Linked DNA regions of Homo sapiens: regions 1, 2, 4, 5, 6 and 7 are each linked to region 3. Evidence: promoter capture Hi-C in 16 types of primary human blood cells and fetal thymus (Javierre and others, 2016). All regions are on one chromosome and are shown on one strand. The core of a region is centred on a gene start or on the middle of the fragment in contact, and the rest is flanking DNA. Distances in the headings are between cores, read along the strand shown.

Region 1 (3,026 bases), core at 402-2,901, 410 kb after region 3:
AATAAAAAAGGACTTTAGCACCCTCTTTCAGCAATGGATGGATCATCTAGATAGAAAATCAACAAAGAATTATCAGATTTAAATTACATTCTAGACCAAATAGCCCCAGCAGATATTTATAAAACATTCCCCTCAATAACTACTGAATGTACATTTTGCTCAACAGCACATGGAACTTTTCTCCACGATAGAATATATGTTAGTCCACAAAACATATCTCAAGCAATCAAAAAAATCAAAATCTTATCAAGTATCTTCTCTTACCACAATGCAATAAAAACTAGAAATGAATACCAAGAGGAACTATGGAACATATACGAATATGTGAAAACTAAAAACAAGTTTTTACAAAACCAGGGCATCAATAAAGAAATTAAAAAGAAAATTTAAAAATTCCTTGAGACAAATAAAAGGAAACATAATGTACCAAGACCTATGGGATACAGCAAAAGCTATTCTAAGAGGGAGTTTATAGCAATAGATGCCTACATCAAAAAAGTATAAGAATCTTTTATAAAAACTTTATGTGGCACCTCAAGGAATGAGAAAAACGAGGGCCAGCTGAACCCTAAACTACTAGAAGAGAAGACTGATAAAGATCAAGCAGAAATAAGTGAAATAGAGCCTGAAAATAATATAAAAATCAGTAGAACAAAAAGTTGGTCCTTTGAAAGATAAACAAATGTTTTAGCTAGACTAACAAAAAAGAGAAGACTCAAATAAATATAATCAGAGCTAAAAAAGGAGATGTCACAGAAATACAAAGGATCATAGAAGACTTTTATGAGCAATTATATGCCAATAAACTGGAAAACCTAAAAGAAATAAATAAATTCCTGGACACATGCAACCTACCAAAGTTGAACTACTATGAAGAAATAAAATACCTACACAGGCCAATAATGTGTAACAAGAATGAATCAGTAATAATAAGTCTCCCGTCAAAGAAAAGCCCAGGAACTGATGACTTTACTGCTAAGTTCTACCAAACATGTAAATAATAATATCACTTCTTTTCAAACTATTCTAAAAAGTTGAAGAGGTGCAAATTCTTCCACACTCATTCTATGAGGCCAACATTATCAAAACCAGACAAGGATAACTTGATAAAAAGAAAACTACAGGCCAATCTCCTTTATCAACATAGATGCAAAAATCTTTAACAAAATATAAGTGAAACAAATTCAACAGCATATTGAAAAAATAATTCACCACAATCAAGTGAGATTCATCCCAGGGATGCAAGGATGGTTTAACATATGTAAATCACAAATGTGATACATCACATTAACAGAATGAAGGACAAAAATGACATAATCATTTTAATAGACAAAGAAAAAAATTTGATAAAATTTAACATCCCTTCATGATAAAAATTCTCAGCAAATGAGATGTAGAAGTAATATACCTCAACACAATAAAGGCCATAAATGAGAAGCTCATAGATAACATCATACTGAAGAAGTTGAAAGCTATTCCTCTATGATCTGCAATAAGACAAGGATGCCGCATTTATCACTTTTGTTGAACATACTACTGGAAATCCAAGCCAGAGCAATTAGGCAAGAGAAATGAAAGGCATCCAAATAGGAAAGGGGGAAGTCAAATTGTCCTTGTTTGCAGATGACATTATCTTATATATAGAAAATCCTAAAGATTCCACAAAAAACTGTTAGAATAAATAAATTCAATAAAGTTGCAGGATACAAACTCAACATGCAAAAATCAGTAGTGTTTCTATATGCCAGTAGCAAGCTACCTAAAAAAAGATATCAAGAAAGCAATCCACTGACAATAGCTATAAAATAAATACCCAGGAATATAGTTAACAAAGGAGGTGAAACATCTTGAGTGGAAACTATAGAATATGGATAAAATAAATTGAAGAGGACACAAATAAATAGAAAGATAATAATGAATTGCAAAAATTAATATTGTCAAAATGTCCATATTATCCAAAGCAATTTACTAATTCAATGCAATCCCTATTCTTCACAGAAATAGAAAAAAAAATCCTAAAACTTCTATGGAACCACAAAAGACCCCAAATAGCCAAAGTAATCCTTAGCAAAAATAAAGCTCGAGGCATCACACTACCTGACTTTAAAATATACTATAAAGCTATAGTAACCAAATCAACATGGTACTGGTATAAAAATAGACACATAGATAACTGAAACAGAATACAGAACAGAAATAAATCCATGCACTTACAGCCAACTGATTTTCAACAAAAGTGTCAGCAACATGCATTAGGAAAAGGAGAGGCTTTTCAATAGATGGCACTGGGAAAACTGAATATCCACATGTAGAAGAATAAAATTAGACCCCTGTCTCTTACCATATGTAAAAATTAGTTCAAAATTGATTAAAAACTTTAATGTAAGACCTGAAACTGTAAGCATCCTAGAAGAAAACATGGGAGAAACAATTCATGACATTGGTCTCGGCAAGAATTTTTTGAATAAGACCTCAAAAGCATACAACAAAAGCAAATATAGAGAAATGGTACTATATTAAACTAAAATGCTTCTGTACAGCAAAGGAAACAGATTGAAGTTAACTTAAGGAATGGGAGAAAACATATGCAAACTATGCATCTGACAAGGGGTTAATGCCTAGAATATATAGAAAAATAACTCAATAGCAGAAAAATAAATAATTCCATTTAAAGATGGGCAAAATGCCTAAATAGACATTTCTCTAAAGAAGACATACTAATGCTTAGCATCACTAATCATCAGGGAAATGCAAATAAAACCATAATGACATATCACCTCAGTCCAGTTAGAATGGCTATTATCAAAAAGACAAAAAATAACAAATGTTGGGGTAGATGTGAAGAAAGAGGAAGTCTCATATGCTGTTGTAAATTAGTCCAGCAATGATGGAAAACAGAATGAAGGTTCCTAAAAAAGTTAAAAAATAGAAGTACCATATGATCCAGAATCCCACTACTGAGTATATATCCAAAGGAAATAAAATCAGTTATGTGGAAGAGATATCTGCATTCCCATGTTTATTGC
Region 2 (3,054 bases), core at 178-2,677, 380 kb before region 3:
TGTCTGGAACCAATATATCTAGACATCTCTAGGTGACATCCACATAGAATTCTAACAGTGAGTCAGAGGCTGGGCCATTGATTGAAGTCACTCAAGAAGCTTAAAGTCAGACTAGGATGAGAGTCTTCAGGGTCTTCATCCTGGTTACTACTGTCTCCGGAAATGGGACCTGGGATAAAGGTCACTAAGGAATGATGGATCCAACAATAGCAAATGTGTCCCCAAATTCCCTCTTCCAATGCCCTTCACGTTGTTGAGATTGGAACAAGGCCTTTCTTATACAATTTATTGTTTGAAAACTCTACCAGCAAATTGTCTAGCTCAGCGTTACTCAGATATTAACGTGCATAGGAATCACCCGGGGATCTGCAAAAATGCAGATTCTGATTTAGGAGGTCTCAGGTGGGGCCTGAGATTCTGCATCTCCAATAAGCTCCCAGGAGATGCCAGTGCTGTTTCAAGCATCACACTTTGAAGAGCAAAGAACCACAGGCAAGGCTGTGGGGCAGGTCAGGCTGCATGATGCTGGATTCCATGGGGTGATTGCTATGAAGGCCCAAAGCTAGTCAGACCGTCCCCAAAACTGACCAGAGACCCCACTTCCAAGGAAATCCTATGAAAAACAGGAGATAGCCCGCTATAGGCTATTGATTATTTTTAGTTTTTTAAGAGGGGGAATGTGCAGAGAAGAGCGAGTAGCAGGAAGGAGTCCCTGGGGAGGACACTGAGTGACTCCTGTGCTGATTATTTTAGGAGGAGAAGCTGAGGAAAAGTATCTGCATCTCAGAAGGAGATAATTACTTTCCACTTAGCTCTTCAGTTTTTCAGGAAGTTTGCAAGGAGGGCAAGTAATTAGTCTCTTGGGAGGTGAAAGAGACAAGTTCTCAGGATGAAAAACTTTTCCCTGCTGGTCTTTACAGCAGAATCAGAAGTATCTGCCCACTTTTGGCAAGGCCCACAAATGCAAAAATGTACTGTGGGGGTTGAAAAAGAAAAAGAGCTATGTTAGAGATCAAGCTAAATGGCAGAGACAGTAAGACAGTGGTGCCTCCAAGCTCTGTGTCCTGGAAGGCTTCCCCTGAAACCATTCTTCATAGTCTTGGCCCTGTGGGGTGGCTCCCACACTGTGACACCACACTGCAAGTTATGAGCAGGGCCTCTCCTCTAGGGATCCTGTGGACAGAACCAGCTTCAGAAATGAGAGGAAGTTTGCATCTACTCTTTGCCCCGCTTTGCTAATCCTAGCCCAGCCCAGCTGAGACTCAGTCTAGTAAAAGAAACCAGACCCGGATCTCTTCCTGCCCCTACCATCTTCCCATGACTTCTCACGCCATCCAGATTTCCGAGGAATGCCTCTCTTATCAGCCCTCCCACCACGTTACCTACAACACCAGTCCCACTCCGTTTACTCCTTCTCATCTGATTTCTACCACCTTTGCTTCTACCATCCAGGGGCCCTGGTAATCTGGCCAGGCTGCTCTCAGGAAACCCAGCCTCAGAAGGCCTGGGCAACTGGTCCTTCTTCTGGAACTTGGATCTAAGATTCTGCAGTAGAAGGGAAGTAGTGGCCCCACGGGAAGGGGAAGGCAGCAAGTCTGAGAGTGCAGACGCAGCTCAGCTTTCCCCCACTCTCAAGTGCATGAAAAAGGTAAGGTCTTCATGACTTTCTATAAGAGGGTTGGAGGAGTGGCTCCCAGAGAGCCATTTCTGTGGAAAGGCAAGAGGCTTTGGGGCCAGATGGAAGAAGTGGGCAGCCTGGGTGTGAGGGGTGCTTCCATCCAGGAGCGGTCAGGCCGAGAGAGGGGAGCCAACAGAAGCACATGGCTCCTCCTGTGTTGGGGTGCCAGGCCTCTCTGCTCTTCTTAGAGCACCTCCCATTTTCAGAACTCTATCATAGACCTTGAAGCCAGGTCCTGAAAAGGAAACACATCCAAAATAAAGGAAACTTAAAAGAATGCAAGCAAAACCACAGAGCTAAGAAAGAAAGGTTTTAATAGGACATTTTAATAATAGCTACATTTACTGAGCTCTTACTTAATGTGCCAGACCCTGCACTAAGAGCCTTATTTGTTTGGATTATCTCTTTTAATTAAGACCGTCCCATTGTACTCACTCTGCATTCCCTATCCATTCCTTAACTATCCCAGGTGCACAGAAACTTGCCTTTGAGACATTCTACCAATGTGTGTCCATTAGTTCTCTGCAGTGCAGGAGAAGAAACTTGCATGAAGATGAGGGACCAGGAGAAAATGAGAAAAAAGAGAGTGAGGAGCTCCAGCTTAGGCATGTGGGTGCCCACCTGCAGCAAGTCTACTCCTCGTGACTTGTCAGGTGCTCTCTAGCCCTGTCAAGGGCTCACCCTCTCACCTACAGGCTGCTGGGTCTCCAAGGAAGATCCTTTTAGTCACATCCTCAATGACCTCCTTGACCTTCTCATTCCGGAAGGTGAAGATGAAGGGGTTGAGGAAAGGGGTTACCATTGCAGTCACCATGGCCACCGCCTTGTTGAGGTATGTGGAGTGGCCCTTGCCTGGCCTCACGTAGATGAAGATGGCACTGCCATAGCCCAGAACCACCACTGTGAGGTGAGAGGCACAGGTGGAGAAGGCCTTCTGGCATCCAGAGGAGGAAGGGATGTGCAGCACTGCAGCCACAATGAGGATGTAGGAGAGGATGATAAGCAGCATGGTGGTCAGCACAAAGAGCAGGGACAGGAAGAGGTCCATGCGCTCAATGTGGCGGGTGTCAGAGCAGGCAAGCTTGAGCAGCGGGGCAGAGTCACAGAAGTAGTGGCCGATGATGTTAGGGCCACAGAACCAGAGTCGTGTTTTCTGCAGTGTGGGAGAGACAATGGAGAGGAAACCAACCACCCAACAGGCCACCACCAGCTTCACACACACTGGACCATTCGTGATGGTTGGGTAGCGCAGGGGGTGGCAGATGGCCACGTAGCGATCAAAGGCCATGACCATGAGTATCAGGAAGTTGGCAGAGCCCAGGGAGAAGTAAAAGAAAGACTGGGTTAGGCATTTGGCCAGGGACATGGTCTTGTGA
Region 3 (3,020 bases), core at 208-2,707:
AGAATGTGGTCTTTTTTTTACTCTGTCCTTCTCTGGTTGATATCAGTGGTCTGACATTTGGTGCCCTGAACTTCTGTTGCATCCCTGATGCTCTCCTGAATTCTCCTTATGCTACTTATTATGCCACAGGATGGATGGAATAGAAGATAGCCATTCTAATAAAGTAATTGTCATCATCATCATTGCTCCTTGTCCATATGCAGAGGTTTATAATTTCCAATATATTTACCATATTTATGGTCATATTTATTTGTGACCCATATTTTTTATAGGTGAAGAAAGGGGGGTGTTCAGAGAGGTTAACTGCTTGAGGATCCGTAGTGATTGTGACAAGACTCAAAACTTGGGCTTCTGAGTTCAGCTAGGGATGAAGAAGATGGAGGTGTAACATGTATTGCTAACCATGGCAGAGATTCCTGGTCCTGGAATCAGTTTGGATCTTGGTCTTTCCTCTGTGTAACTGTGACTTTAGGTGGGAGTTGTAATATATAATTTGGGGTCTTATTTCTTTTATCTGTAAGATTATCTTTCATGTCTTCTTTCATTCTAAGCCGAGATTCTAAGACATCTTTGTGAATTAGAACATAGGATACTTTTCATATTTTACAGATGGACAAAATGAGGCGCAGAGGGGCTGACATATCCAGCAACTCACAGTAAGGGGTAAAGTTTGGACTAAAGGCTGTCTCGACTCCTAGCACAGGGCTCATTCTGCCATATCCCATTGGCTTATCGCTACTGGGGGTTCCTCTGTGAAGTGCTATTTTAGAGGCCACCAGTTATCAAATATATATTTTTAAATTTTGAAAAAAGTTGCCTGCCTCATTATGTATAATTGTCTCCAGTGTTCTTTTTTTATGATGATGGTCACTGTGAGTAATAAGACTTGAATTAATCCTTCTCTGTAAAGGTTTGCTCAGTTTTCTCTCTGTCTCAGTTAAAGGGGTCTTGCCATACTACTCCCCGCATAGAGTTGTTGTGAGAACTAAGGAGAGCACTCAGAACAATGCCTGCAACATAACAATCACCCCCCCCCCGTGGATGTGAGCGCTGTCTCAGTAGCGGGTGTGCCCCACGGATGATACTACTGAGCTGGCAGGTGCATGGTCCTGTCATAGGTGTCCGCTTAGAGAAGTATAACCTCCTGTGTAAGGACACTAAATGCCAGGGCCTGATATATTATCCACTTTGATGTTGACATGGGCAGAGAATAGGCAGAAGAGCAGGCAAATTTTTGGGCAGGTATGGGGACTTTGAAAATTGAGCCTTGACAATATTTGCATCTACTCTGAGAAGAAAAAACCTCTCACCCTCCTCTGATAGCCTGCGTCCTCTACTCTGGCCTAGCTTCTGCGCTTGGGGCAGCTGGAGGGACAAACATATCCTACAGGACCTTCCAGAGCAACCCAACAGAGATAGCCCTTGAAGTTTTGGGACCCATCTTGTCCACCAGAGAGATGAATGGAGACCACATGGTTCTAGGATCTTCGGTGACTGACAAGAAGGCCATCATCTTGGTTACCATTTTACTCCTTTTACGCCTGGTAGCAATAGCAGGCAATGGCTTCATCACTGCTGCTCTGGGCGTGGAGTGGGTGCTACGGAGAATGTTGTTGCCTTGTGATAAGTTATTGGTTAGCCTAGGGGCCTCTCGCTTCTGTCTGCAGTCAGTGGTAATGGGTAAGACCATTTATGTTTTCTTGCATCCGATGGCCTTCCCATACAACCCTGTACTGCAGTTTCTAGCTTTCCAGTGGGACTTCCTGAATGCTGCCACCTTATGGTCCTCTACCTGGCTCAGTGTCTTCTATTGTGTGAAAATTGCTACCTTCACCCACCCTGTCTTCTTCTGGCTAAAGCACAAGTTGTCTGGGTGGCTACCATGGATGCTCTTCAGCTCTGTAGGGCTCTCCAGCTTCACCACCATTCTATTTTTCATAGGCAACCACAGAATGTATCAGAACTATTTAAGGAACCATCTACAACCTTGGAATGTCACTGGCGATAGCATACGGAGCTACTGTGAGAAATTCTATCTCTTCCCTCTAAAAATGATTACTTGGACAATGCCCACTGCTGTCTTTTTCATTTGCATGATTTTGCTCATCACATCTCTGGGAAGACACAGGAAGAAGGCTCTCCTTACAACCTCAGGATTCCGAGAGCCCAGTGTGCAGGCACACATAAAGGCTCTGCTGGCTCTCCTCTCTTTTGCCATGCTCTTCATCTCATATTTCCTGTCACTGGTGTTCAGTGCTGCAGGTATTTTTCCACCTCTGGACTTTAAATTCTGGGTGTGGGAGTCAGTGATTTATCTGTGTGCAGCAGTTCACCCCATCATTCTGCTCTTCAGCAACTGCAGGCTGAGAGCTGTGCTGAAGAGTCGTCGTTCCTCAAGGTGTGGGACACCTTGAGCCACAGCTGATGAAAAACTTCAAGGAGATTCTTGTGGAGAAGGCATGGACTCAAAGGGACATAGCTTCTCTCTTTGCCACATTGAATGTTTTCTCTCTGTTGCTACAGTTAATGATTAGAAAAATAACTTCAATGAAATAGGATACAAGGTGAGAGTAAAGGTCCTGAAATATGGGCTAGTGTCATGTTATGTACTCACCAAGTGCATAGTTCATGTGGCCATGGTTCCTGTGGGACCTGATGTGGTCAAAGAATCCAGAAGCCTTTATTTTTCCTGTGATCGATCTCTTCGTATTTAAAATAATCATTCTGGGAACTGGATGCAAAGATCCTCAAACTTCATGCAATATTTTATCTGTTCAATCGAACTGGGGCATGTTTTTGGAACTGCAGTTTTCTCAGGCTTTGTCCTGTGAACCACCTTTCCCTTCTCATCAATTCAAAGTTTTCTGGCCATCTAATGTGGTGCCTCTCTCCTTCTTTCCATGGAAGAGTTTCTGGTGTCTAAACCTTCTACACAGAGCATAGTGTAATTGGTGCATGTGTGTGGCAGTGTGTGTTGCCAGGGATGTGTGTATTCTCCGATGACCTTTGGAGATCCCTCT
Region 4 (3,115 bases), core at 616-3,115, 490 kb after region 3:
ATTTATTTGTAAAACTCCTCATCTTGTTTGTGTATTTTTTTCCAAATTTTTTAAAATTTCTATTGGTACTTTTTTTTAACTTAAGAGGATTATTCTGAATTTTTTGTCACCCCATAAATCTCCATTTCTTTAGGGTCCATTATTAGCCCTTTATTAGTTTCTTTTGGAGGTGTCATAACTCCCCAGTGCTTTGTAATCCTTGTGTCTTTGCATTGTTATCTTTTCATTTGAAGAGATACCCCCTCCTTCTGGCCTTTACAGGTGTTCTTTGGCAGGGCTAGACCTATACTATTTAGTGTAGCCTGTAATTCTTCAAGGGCCAGCTGGTAATGGCCCTGGGCAAGCAAAGCTAACTGTGGATTTTCTACCTGCCTGGGATGCTGTCTTTGCTCTGATATTGGCTGGGGCTATTGACTGGGCCCTGCTGTCTGGCAAGACCACTGGCTGAGCTCTGTTATCACACAGAGCTACTGACTGCGTACTGCAATGGCTTCTGGTCAGACTAGTCACAGAATTTATTCCCTGGCTGGAAAATTATGCTTTCTGGGATTTGCAGTTGGGCAGGGCTGTAGGCTGAACTCCAAAGTTAGGAGAAGTTGCTGCTTAGAATGATTGAGGCCAGAGGCTACACTCAGAAAAACACAATTGATGGTTGCTTCCCTGTTAAGGTGGAGCTTCCTTGTAGGGTTTCTTCCCTTTAAGATGGGCTTTTGGCTGAATTGAGTTTGACTTCCCAGGTCAAACAGTTCTAGCCCTCATGCTTCTCTGAAAGGCATGTAGATGTCCTTGATGGGGCCTTTTAGCTGAGTAGAGCCATGGATTGACTTCCTGGGTTAAGCAGGTCTACCTCATGTGTGTTTCTGAAATGGGTGGAGGTGTGTATCTCCTTGTCTTGGCAGAGGTCACTGGTGTGGGCTCTGAGACTGGACATGGGGACTAGCTATCTAAGGCCTCAAGCTAGGTTGTACTTCCCACCATGCTTCTGAAGATGACCAGCTTAGCTTTGTAAATGAACTATGAAGTTGACTAGTGTCTCAGATTGGGCACCACAGCTAGCAAGAACACAGAGGTAATGCCATGATCTGTGTGCTGGTCACTAAGACCTCTGCCTCCTTTCTTTGTTTTTACTTGACACCAGGTAGTCTAGCTATGCTGTTACCCCCAGTGTTCTCCATGAGATAAGCCCAGAGTGGGATTTCTGAGAAGCATCTTGGAAAACTAGAGATGCTGAATGACTGCCTCTAGTTTTCCTTTCCTCCTGTAAAAACCATGGGCCCAGGAAAACCCTCTTTGTCTGGTGTTGTGTTGACTTTGGCAGGAGGCAAGGTGGCAGGGTTGAAGTGAAACTATGCTTCTTAGCCTTCTAATTCAATTTTCATTCCACGTACCTTGTGGTTGTCTCATGTTAGTGTCCAAGTAGTGGAGTTTTAAAAGAGATATTCTGGTCTGGGGATAGTTGCTAGTTGAATGTTCTGTGGAGAAGAGTAGAGCCTGGGACTTTCTATTCTTCCTTTTTGCTGACATCATCAGAAAACAAACTCCCTGCCCTGGATACTGAGGTAAGCTAGTAAAGAGGTAAAGCTTCCAAAAATTGCACTGCATTATCTACAGGCTTTAACTGGCTTATTTGAGTCCACATCATGTCCTTATGAAAGCACTACTGTCTCTCTAATGCAAAGTAAATATAGTGTATGTTGGAAACAAGCCTGTCATCTTGGCCTTGTGAATTATCTAAAATATTTGGCCAAGGCTGGAATGTCGTATACAGTATGCATTCCTAAGAAGTTATTCTTATGATTCTTTGATTCAACAGCTTCTGTTTTTTTCTGACTCTTTCTACAGATTAATATTCCTCACATTTTTAAATGGAAATAGATAACCAGACGTGGGTGAGAGAATTTATTCTCCTTGGCTTATCCAGTGACTGGTGCACTCAGATATCCCTGTTTTCCCTGTTCTTGGTCACATACCTCATGACAGTGCTGGGGAACTGTCTCATTGTCCTTCTGATCAGACTGGACAGCCGACTCCACACTCCCATGTATTTCTTTCTCACCAACCTCTCCCTTGTCGATGTCTCCTATGCCACAAGCGTAGTCCCCCAGCTGCTGGCACATTTTCTTGCAGAACATAAAGCCATCCCATTCCAGAGCTGTGCAGCCCAGTTATTTTTCTCCCTGGCCTTGGGTGGGATTGAGTTTGTTCTCCTGGCAGTGATGGCCTATGACCGCCATGTGGCTGTGTCTGACCGCCTGCGATACTCGGCCATCATGCATGGAGGGCTGTGTGCTAGGTTGGCCATCACATCCTGGGTCAGTGGCTCCATCAACTCTCTTGTGCAGACTGCTATCACCTTTCAGCTGCCCATGTGCACTAACAAGTTTATTGATCACATATCCTGTGAACTCCTAGCTGTGGTCAGGCTGGCTTGTGTGGACACCTCCTCCAATGAGGCTGCCATCATGGTGTCTAGCATTGTTCTTCTGATGACACCTTTCTGCCTGGTTCTGTTGTCCTACATCCGGATCATCTCCACCATCCTAAAGATCCAGTCCAGAGAAGGAAGAAAGAAAGCCTTCCACACGTGTGCCTCTCACCTCACGGTGGTTGCCCTGTGCTACGGCACAACGATTTTCACTTACATCCAGCCCCACTCTGGTCCCTCAGTCCTTCAAGAGAAGCTGATCTCTGTCTTCTATGCCATTGTTATGCCTCTGCTGAACCCTGTGATTTATAGTCTAAGGAATAAAGAGGTGAAGGGGGCCTGGCATAAACTATTAGAGAAATTCTCTGGGTTAACATCCAAGCTGGGAACTTGACTCATGAACATTACTTTAAGAAGAAGCTTTGCCTCATTTTTCTCCACCCAGCTCAGATATGGCAGGGATAAACTATGTTGCTCTGGCAACCGGGAAGGAGATGATGTAACATGTACTGGGGATGTTATGTAGGAGGCTGAGTGGTTGAGTTGGATGGGGTGTGGGATGTGGGGATAATTTTATATCCCAGCAGTATGATTAGTGGAGTTAGCTACTGCTGTAACAGAACCTTCCACAATTTCTCAATCTCCACTCTTATGTTCTGATAAAAACTGAAAAAAAGTACTACTTACTGT
Region 5 (2,813 bases), core at 261-2,760, 420 kb before region 3:
GCATGGTATGCTTGTTTGTTTATACCAACATCACCACAAACACATGAGAAACGTGATGTGCTATGATGTTACAACAGCTACCATGTCATTAGGTGATAGGAGTTGTTCAGCTCCATTATAATCTTATAGAACCACCATCTTACATGCAGTCCATCATTGACTGATATATTGTTATATAGTGCATGACTATAAACAAATTGATAACCAAATTACAATAATAATCCCCTGGAAGTGAGATAACAGTATCCATAGTGATACAATATAATATCTAAAATGTGTAGTTTTCAACAAAAAATTACAAGATATGCAAAGAAACAGGAAAGTGTGACTCATACACAGGAGGAAAAGCTAACAATAGAAACTGTATGTGAGAGGGACCAGATGGCATATTTAACATTTAAATTCAAAGTAGACATTATAAATATGTTCAGAGAATTAAAGGAAATGATTTTATTTAAAAAGTAAAGAAAAGTATGATGATAATGTTTCTCTGAGTAGAGAATATCAACAAAAATATCAAAATGATAAAAATGGCCACATGGAGATTCTAGAGTCTGAAAGTACAATAAGTAAAAAATTAACCAGAGGAGCACAACTGTATTTTGTAACTAATGGAAGAAATAATGATTAAACTTCAAGATAGGTCAATAGAAATCACGCAATCCAAAGATCAGAGACAAAAAAGAAATACAGAAAAATGAAAAAGTGTCAGAGAAATATGGGATACCACTAAGTGTACCAATATACATGTAATGGAAGTACCAGAAGGATAGGAGAGATACAGAAGAACGTAAAAAATATTTGAAGAAATCATGGTTGAAAACTTCTCAAATTCGATGAAAAATATTAATCTACTCACCCACAAAGGTCAATAGACTTCTAGTAGAATAAACACAAAGAGATCTACAGTAGACAAATAATAGTAAAATCTCTGAGAAACAAGGAAAAAAATCTTCAAAGCAACAAGAGAAAGTGTCTTCTCACATCTAATGGAACATCTCACATCTAATGGAATCAGTAAGATTAACAGCTGACTTCTCATCAGAAACAGTTGAGACCAGAAGGGAACAGGATGACATATTCCAAGTGGTGAAAGAAAAAACAAGGTCAACCACAAATCCTATAGCTGGCAAAATTATCTTTCAAAAATTAAGGCAGAAGAAAGAAATTCTGAGATAAACTAAATGAGAGAATTTGTTGCTAGCAGACCAAACTTACAAGAAATACTAAAGGAATTTCTGCAGACTAAAAGCAAGTGACATCAGACAGTGTTTATAATCCACATAAATAAAATAAAAAGCATTGATAAAAGTAAGTTTTTATGGTAAGTAATTATAAGGAATATATAGTAAGTAATTATAAAAGAAAGCATAAATGCATGTTTATTCTCTTCTTTTAACTAGTTTAAAAAAACAGTTACATAAGACAATAAGTATATACCTTATTTGTGAATGGAAAACATAAAGAAATGTAATAGATTTACCAAAAATAGCACAAAAGAGTTAGCTAGGAGCAGAACAGTTTTGGAGTAATGAAATGAGATCAGATGTAAATGTGAATCTGAGAAACAAATGAAGATAACCAGAAAAAATAAATAAGGTTAACATTACAAATGCTAGAAATATGCAAACGTTCTCCTTTCTTCTCCCATCTCCTTTAAAATTATAAGTAACAATTATAACAATATATTGTTAAGTTTGTAAGTAGGTGAACTATGTATTACAACAATAACAGAACAAAAGGAGGAAAAAGAGAATAGAGCTATATAGGAGTAATGCTCCTATATCTCACTGGCATTGTTAGTATAAATCTGAAGCCAATCTGATAAGATATATATGTTAAGCTCTAGAGCATTCATTTAAAATACAATTTAAAAATCAACAAAGGATTTAAAATGTTATACAGTGATCCCTCAGTATCTGTGGGTGCTTGGTTTCAAACCAAGGTTCCAAAAGAGGAACCCCACAGATACAAAAATTCACAGATGCTCAAGTTCTTTATATAAAATTGTATACTATTTGCATATAACCTACATACATCATCCTGTATACATTAAATCATTTTAGATTACTTATAATACCTAATACAAGGTAAATAGTTGTTATTCTATATTGTTTAGGAAATCATGATTTTTAAAAAGCATGTACATGTTCAGTACATACACAACCAACCTTTTTTTCCCAAATATTTTTTATCTGCAGTTGGTTGAATCCAAGATGAAGAATCCATGGATATGAAGGGTTGACTGCCATAGAAAAAATATTCACTTAATGCAAACATAATATGTGTAATGAAAACGTTAAATGATGTTGTTGAAAAGGTGGACAACATGCATAAACAAGAAAAGGTTTCTGATAGACAGCTTAAAACTATAAGAAAGAATATAATGGAAATGTTATAAATAAAACCACGATATGGGAGATGAGGAATTATTTTCACAGGTTCATTGGTAGATTCAACATAGCTGAAGAAAGAATTAACAAACTTAAAAATAGGCCACAGTGTATGCATAGTACAAGTTTCCTAGGTTTCCTACTGCTATGGTTTGCACGTCCCTTTCAAAACTCATGTTGAACTTTGGTGGCCATTGTAATAGTGTTGAGAGGTGGAACTTTTAAGAGGTAATTAGGTTATGAGGGTTATGCTCTCAGGGATAAATTAATGTCATTATTGGGGGAGTGGATTCATTTTCATGAGCATGAATAAATTCGTGTGAGGGCAAGAGAGTTCAGCCTCTCTTGCTCTCTCTCCCTCTTGCATTTCTGCCTTCCACCATGGAATGACACAGCATGCAGGCCCTTGGCAATGCCAGC
Region 6 (3,040 bases), core at 360-2,859, 400 kb before region 3:
GTTTTTTTTTTGTTTTTTTTTTTGAGACGGAGTCTCGCTCTTTCGCCCAGGCCGGACTGCAGTGGCATTGTCTTGGCTCACTGCAAGCTCCACCTCCCGGGTTCATGCCATTCTCCTGCCTCAGCCTCCTGAGTAGCTGGGATTGCAGGTGCCCACCACCGCGCCCGGCTAATTTTTTGTATTTTTAGTAGAGACGGGGTTTCACCGTGTTAGCCAAGATGGTCTCGATCTCCTGACCTTGTGATCCGCCCGCCTCGGCCTCCCAAAGTGCTGGGATTATAGGCGTGAGCCACCGCGCCCAGCCATGGAGCTAGTTTTCAAGCTTTCTTCTTAATGGTGACCTGAGCCTCTCAGTCCAACATGAGGACTCTCCACTCATGACTCTTTGGATGGAACTCCTCCACAAAGCTAACATTTTTGTCTGAATCAGTTCTCTCTAGATAACATCATGGGCCATTACAGTCCACACCAGATCTAGTACATAAACTTATCCTAGATTAATGATTTTACAAGTGAGTAGAAGTGTTTGCTGAATATCCTTAAGCTCAAGGCCATTCCATGTCTATGTTTGACTTTCCCACATAAGTATACTCGGACACAGGTAAGAGAAGTCATCATGGCCCAGAGAAAGAAAAGGACATTCTGGCAAACTAGTAGAACAGATAGGGTTATTACCTATCCACTATATAGGGTTGCATTAATAATGTATGTTATTAGAGATAGGATTATTACCCCAGTGGCAGAGACATTACCCACAAAACAGGAAATGAGAAGGAACAAACCTTACTGACCTGCCACAAAACTTCCTAACTGACCTTCACATCTACCCTCGCTTCCCTCTGTCTACTCTGTTCTCCCCATAGCAGCCTGCGTGATCCTTTAAAACACAGACTAGATCAGGTCTCTCCCCGGATTAAAACCTTTCTCTCTGCCATTTGGTTAAAGTCCTGAGACCTGTGAGGCTCTGCATGATTTCTAGAAATACCTTTCTCTAATGTCATCTTGTGTCACTCCTCTGCTCAGTGACACTGACATCCTTTGTGCTCCTGTAATGGCACGCTGCTCCATCTCTCAGAGTGCTCATTGTGATTCCCACCATGCTGTGCCTAGTTAGCACCAGATACCAGTTAATGATTACTCCTATAGATGCTTCCCATAACCTCACAGACATATCCATGTTCAGGTTCCCTGCCAGGGGCTTTCCAGATATTACAGTAAATGCTGCAGTGCGCTGCCCGGACTCCCATTCAGAACCAAGATGCTAATTACCCCCAAATTGCTCCCAATCAAAGAGAAACACCTTCCCCAAGATTATAGCCCTTCCTCTAAGGTAGCCTGCATCCAATGGCCTATGGATGCAGAAGTATAATGCCCAGGCCCCAAGTTTCTGTTCAGGACAACTCTGGGCACAATTCAGGACAACTCTGGAAAGCCGTCCTAGCTCAGAGCTCCCCGTAGGATTTAAGCCTCTGTTGTGACCTCATCACAGGTCTGTCCAAACATCTTCTCCCTCATCACTCCCAGATCTAAGACAACCACGTAGTTTCTTGCTCAAAACAACTCACTATTTTGTAAGTGTGTGTGTGTGTGTGTGTGTGTGTGTGTGTGTTTACCTGGTTTTATAGCGTATGGTAACATCGGTCTTCATCAAATATGCTCCATAGTGGGGAGACCATGTCCACTCTGTTTACTGCTGTATCTTCAGTACATTGTCTAAAAAATAACAGTTATTCAAAAACAATTCTTATTAAAGTTTGTTTTTTTAATTTACAGTGAGATTGAGTTCTTTTCATGTTTAAAAAATCATTTGCAGTTTTCTTTAATGAATGTACAGGTTTGTAAGAGAACATTTTGCATAAATCAAACAAATCTTTATTTCATGTTTCTGTTTTTATGTTTTGTTTCTATCTTGCATAAATATTTCATCCTTAGGCAGTTACACTTAACAGTCTTTTAGACTCCCGGGATCCGTGTTTTCCTTTGAAAAGCCTATGTTCATACTCCAAGGAAATTAAAAACAAACCAAAAAATCCCATTTTTTACTTTTTACATTTAAGTCTGTTTGAGCCATCGGGAATTTATTATTTTTTGGAAGCATAAGGTATAGATCCAGGGTTTTGGTTTTTCCAGATATTCTGTGAATGTAATACATATTTCTAGGACAAAGGGAAGGTGGTGACAAGGAAGGGAGAAGAGAGAGAGAGCCCCCAAAAAACAAACTTAGAGGCCTGCCATGGCAAAAAAAAAATACCTCCTCCTCTATCTGGGTTGGGACACAGAGGGCATCCATATTTGGATGTGGAGAAACAAGAGATTAGAATGACTATGATATTAATAAGGGCCAAAGAATATCAGCAATGGAAAGATAATGTTTTCCAACACTTCGTTTTACATATTGTAAGCCTGAAACTCAGAAATCGAGTGACTTGTTAAGGTCATGCTGCAGTTTACTAGCTGAGTTGACATGAGTGACCGGGAACTCCTAGACCACCCTTCTACAGGAGGCAGTCAGCTGTTGTCAGCAGGGAATGAAGCACCAGTAGGTTGAGTGGAGTGACCTTCAAGAATCCTGGCAACCCTGAGATTCTGAGACTCACAAATGTGCTTTTGAAGATCAGCAGTCTTATAATCAAAGACAGATGCTTTAAGGTGAATAAGTTACATACTGGAACACAGTAAAAGCTCAATAAATACCTCAGCAATGAGTGTGGCATGTCCTTATCAATAATGATAAGTAAATGTGCCTCTGGACATGATGAAGAGGATCCATGAGCGTAAGTGTGCAGTTTATGACAACGTCAGTGTCTGGGATGGTTGCTGGAGTGCCAGGGAGACACAGCCCCTTGGGACTGAGCAGTGGAGAAAGGGGGAAGGGGACCTCACAGCTGGGGATCCTGAAGCTTCAGACTCTCCTCCATCCTGTAACACTGGGATAGTGAGGCCAGACAGCAGGAAAGGGCTGGAGAAGAGCATTGCTAAACAAACTTAGCTTGCTCTTGTCAGCTTACTAACATCTACCATGCTCTTCTATACCCCAAGA
Region 7 (3,167 bases), core at 317-2,816, 440 kb before region 3:
ATATTACCCATTCTTTAAATTTTGACTGTGATTGTTGGAGTCATTCCACTGTAGAAAAGTTAGAAGTTTCTCCTGAGCTCTTATAAAGTTGTTTTCTTGTACAAGAATAATTTTCCTGACTCCCTTTTTGCATATCTACTGCCAATTTTTGATACTGATGTTTTCATTTGTGTTCAATAGAAAAAGAAATCTCTGACCAATTACTCTGGCATTTGGTGATATCTTCAGTTAAGCATTTAAAAATATACTCCAAAACACCACCAACCTGAAATGTGTTATTCCATTTTCCAGAGACTCTAAGTTTTAGACTTAATCATCAAAAGTTTTTATATTTTATTTAAATGTTAGGCATGAAAATCAGTCTTAATAGATTCTATTGAGCATACCTGAATGTCTTCTTGGTTTCTCAAGACGATCATTAGGATGCCACTGTCATATATACATGATCTCAGAGAAGGTTTGCTCCTGCACTAAATGAACAAAAATGTCTTAAGTCCTTTGGTCAGCTTTGTACAGTTGGTTTTTAATTTCTCTCAACATGTCTCTTGATTGAGAGCTAACACACTGCTTGTTGTTTTCAGTAGACCTGTCTTTTCTTATCTCCTTTCTATGAGTAAATCATTTTATCAAGCTTATTTCCAATAAATAAACAAACAGATAAAAGGGACTCTAACAGACTTCCTGTGAGTAAAGTGGCTAAGCTTTATGTGGTTCATGGACTTTGTAACATTTATTTTGTCTGCTTGCTGGTTTATTTTGCTATTTTCTGATTCCTAGCTATGTTCTAGAAAGACTACATAGTTGAGTTTTGGATTAATAAGATATATATGTTAATTATAACACTTAGAGAATCAGGATCATATAGTACCCCAAATACAGATGTTTTTAAAAGTGCCAGAATATCAAAAGAAGATATAACTATATTCAAATATTAAAGCATCAAAGCATAATATACTTCCATGGTTCAAAATTTTAAAGGATACTTTGAAACACTTTTCTATCTGATCCTCCTCCCTCAAGGCAACCAATGTTATCACTTTCTTCTGTGTCTTTACAGAGGTAATTTTAAGCATATACGTCTGCATAAGCAAATGCATACAAGCACATTTTCTTTTTGTACAAATGGTAGTATATCGAACATATGTCCTATGCAGTACAGATCATTGTATATTTATACATAAGACATTCTTGGTTCTTGTTTCCTTTTTTAATAACTCCAGATTATTCCACCAAATGGAATACATACATTATTTCCCTGTACACAATATCTAAATGACAATTTCTAGAAGAGGAATTGCTAGGCCAAAGCGTAAAAGCATTTGTCACTTTAATATATATTACATAATTGCCCTTCATGCAGGCTATTACATTTTACACTACCTATTTTCACGCAGTGTACTATAAAACTTTTTGACATTTGCCAGTTTAATAACTGAAAATAGTATCTTAATATGGCTTTAATTTTTATTGTTCTCCTTATGAATGAAGATGAAAATATTCTCACATGTGCTTATCTTTTGCCCATTTTTCTGCTGAGTAGTTTTATTTTTTTCTTATAGGAGCTTTTTACACATGATGCAAACTAACCTTTTGTGATATGAGTTGAAATTGTTTTCTGGTGTTTTCGTGTGTCTGTTTACCTTGGGGTAGTATTAACCATAGCAAATTTTTAAAAAATTCTTCATAAAGTCAATCTTCTATGACATCTGTGTTTTAAGTCATCCTAAGAAAGGTCTTACCCATTTTTATAAACATTCTTTTATTTCTTATGTTAAATCTATGTTTTTTTTTTACATTTAAATATTTGACCCATTTTAAACAGCCTGGTATGACATAGGCAGTAATGGAATTAACTTTTGTTTTTTAGGTAGCTGCTAGTTTGTTTGACCATTTATTGAATAATTCATTTTTTCCCAATGATAGTACTGTTTACATTATAGCTATATAGTCTGTTTTACAGATGTAGTTATTCCTCATTATGCTTCTATTTCAGAATGTTTTTGAAAATTTTTTGCTTGTTTATTTTTCCATAATAAAAAGTTTAATCTAAGCTGGGCACGATGGCTCACATGTGTAATCCCAGCTATTCAGGCGGCTGAGGTGGGAGGATCACTTGAGTCCAGCAGTTCAAGTCTGTAGTGAGCTATGATCATGCCACTACACTCCAGCCTGGCTGACAGAGCAAGACTCTGTCTCTAAAAATATAAATGAATGAAATAATGCATGAATAAAATGTAATCTGCTTCTCTAGATTTAAAAAATACTATTGATTTTTAAATTGTGATTGTATCATTTTTATGGATACACTTAGAGGAGAATTGATATCTTTGTATTGTTTACTCCACCTTTCCATTTGCTCAAATCTACTTTTGTGTCTTTCAGGAGCATTTTTTTAAATGTCAATCTAGTTTAAATGTAAATCTTTACTTGTTAAGCTTATTCCTAATAATGTTATATTTCTTTGCTTTTGCTTTTGTAAATGAGGTTCTTTCCTTCCATTATATTTTCTAACTTAATGTGTTTTATATGTGAAGTCTTTTGACTCTCAATATAAATTTTGTGCCCAGCCACATTGGTTTTTTACTTTATTTTGTTGAGATTTCCAGATAAACAAATTATTTAAAATTCATGTTAATCTTTTTTTCTCCTCCTTTTTAACATCTTGGCCCTGCATTTTTTTTCTCTTGTCTAATTGCATAGGCTAACATGCCAGAAATTTTAATTAGTTTACATAGAGATGCAGTACATAAATTTAAATTGAAGATCTGTCATTACATAAGACAAAGGGTATGTGTGTTATTATTTATTTTAGATTGGTCCATCCTCTCACCAGGAGCTCAGGCAGCTGTTAAACTCTGGAAAGAGGGCCTAAAAAAGATAGGGGTATGGATAATGGAAGCCCTGCATAAATTCTAAGCAAAGTGGCAGAAAGCACTTTCTAACCCACCATCCTGCCTCGAGGGAGGGCAAAGACTGATGTTAATGTCTTTGCTGACCTCTTCTGGCAAATCTGAAGTTAGCCAGAAGATGGAAGATTTGATTGGTTATTTTTTTCACTTCGATTTCATATGATCACAAAGTCCCTGGGTTTGCCTGATTCGCCTGTTTGAAAAGATTTTTCAATATCCCAGAAGTTGTTTTTAAAGTCCACACTTTCTTTAACCTCT

The links. Contacts are between HindIII fragments. The CHiCAGO score rates a contact against its expected background, and 5 or more counts as called.
Region 1: a contact is called between a fragment that was not itself captured here and the fragment with the promoter of TAS2R60 in region 3, in 10 of 17 cell types (neutrophils, megakaryocytes, naive CD4 T cells and 7 more). The highest score is 10.0, in neutrophils.
Region 2: a contact is called between a fragment that was not itself captured here and the fragment with the promoter of TAS2R60 in region 3, in 1 of 17 cell types (neutrophils). The highest score is 5.2, in neutrophils.
Region 4: a contact is called between the fragment with the promoter of OR2F2 here and the fragment with the promoter of TAS2R60 in region 3, in 5 of 17 cell types (naive CD8 T cells, total CD4 T cells, activated CD4 T cells and 2 more). The highest score is 6.8, in naive CD8 T cells.
Region 5: a fragment that was not itself captured here is called in contact with the fragment with the promoter of TAS2R60 in region 3 in 1 of 17 cell types (neutrophils); the score reaches 6.0 in neutrophils.
Region 6: a fragment that was not itself captured here is called in contact with the fragment with the promoter of TAS2R60 in region 3 in 1 of 17 cell types (neutrophils); the score reaches 7.2 in neutrophils.
Region 7: a fragment that was not itself captured here is called in contact with the fragment with the promoter of TAS2R60 in region 3 in 1 of 17 cell types (neutrophils); the score reaches 9.2 in neutrophils.

What each region holds. Positions count from the first base shown.
Region 1 is chr7:143,847,133-143,850,158 of GRCh38, forward strand. The region is part of intron 2 of LOC112267988 (a long non-coding RNA gene); the gene reads left to right. Among named protein-coding and RNA genes, the nearest start is that of TCAF1, 54 kb to the right of the region's middle. The HindIII fragment of the contact is 4,388 bases long and covers 1-3,026 here.
Region 2 is chr7:143,060,121-143,063,174 of GRCh38, forward strand. It overlaps the pseudogene OR6W1P. Among named protein-coding and RNA genes, the nearest start is that of OR6V1, 9.3 kb to the left of the region's middle. The HindIII fragment of the contact is 2,660 bases long and covers 98-2,757 here.
Region 3 is chr7:143,441,996-143,445,015 of GRCh38, forward strand. TAS2R60 (taste 2 receptor member 60) reads left to right here and starts at 1,458. Exons shown (of 1, transcript NM_177437.1): 1 at 1,458-2,414. The coding sequence starts at 1,458. The coding sequence ends at 2,414. The region is part of intron 2 of EPHA1-AS1 (EPHA1 antisense RNA 1); the gene reads left to right. The HindIII fragment of the contact is 8,585 bases long and covers 1-3,020 here.
Region 4 is chr7:143,933,368-143,936,482 of GRCh38, forward strand. OR2F2 (olfactory receptor family 2 subfamily F member 2) reads left to right here and starts at 1,866. Exons shown (of 1, transcript NM_001004685.1): 1 at 1,866-2,819. The coding sequence starts at 1,866. The coding sequence ends at 2,819. RefSeq lists an enhancer at 2,215-2,714. The HindIII fragment of the contact is 1,264 bases long and covers 1,580-2,843 here.
Region 5 is chr7:143,018,796-143,021,608 of GRCh38, forward strand. No RefSeq gene overlaps it. Among named protein-coding and RNA genes, the nearest start is that of OR9A2, 6.9 kb to the right of the region's middle. The HindIII fragment of the contact is 3,835 bases long and covers 1-2,813 here.
Region 6 is chr7:143,037,779-143,040,818 of GRCh38, forward strand. It overlaps LOC105375544 (a long non-coding RNA gene), which reads right to left. Exons shown (of 2, transcript XR_001745395.1): 1 at 1,614-3,040. Among named protein-coding and RNA genes, the nearest start is that of OR9A2, 12 kb to the left of the region's middle. The HindIII fragment of the contact is 2,578 bases long and covers 321-2,898 here.
Region 7 is chr7:142,999,311-143,002,477 of GRCh38, forward strand. No RefSeq gene overlaps it. Among named protein-coding and RNA genes, the nearest start is that of OR9A2, 26 kb to the right of the region's middle. The HindIII fragment of the contact is 1,734 bases long and covers 700-2,433 here.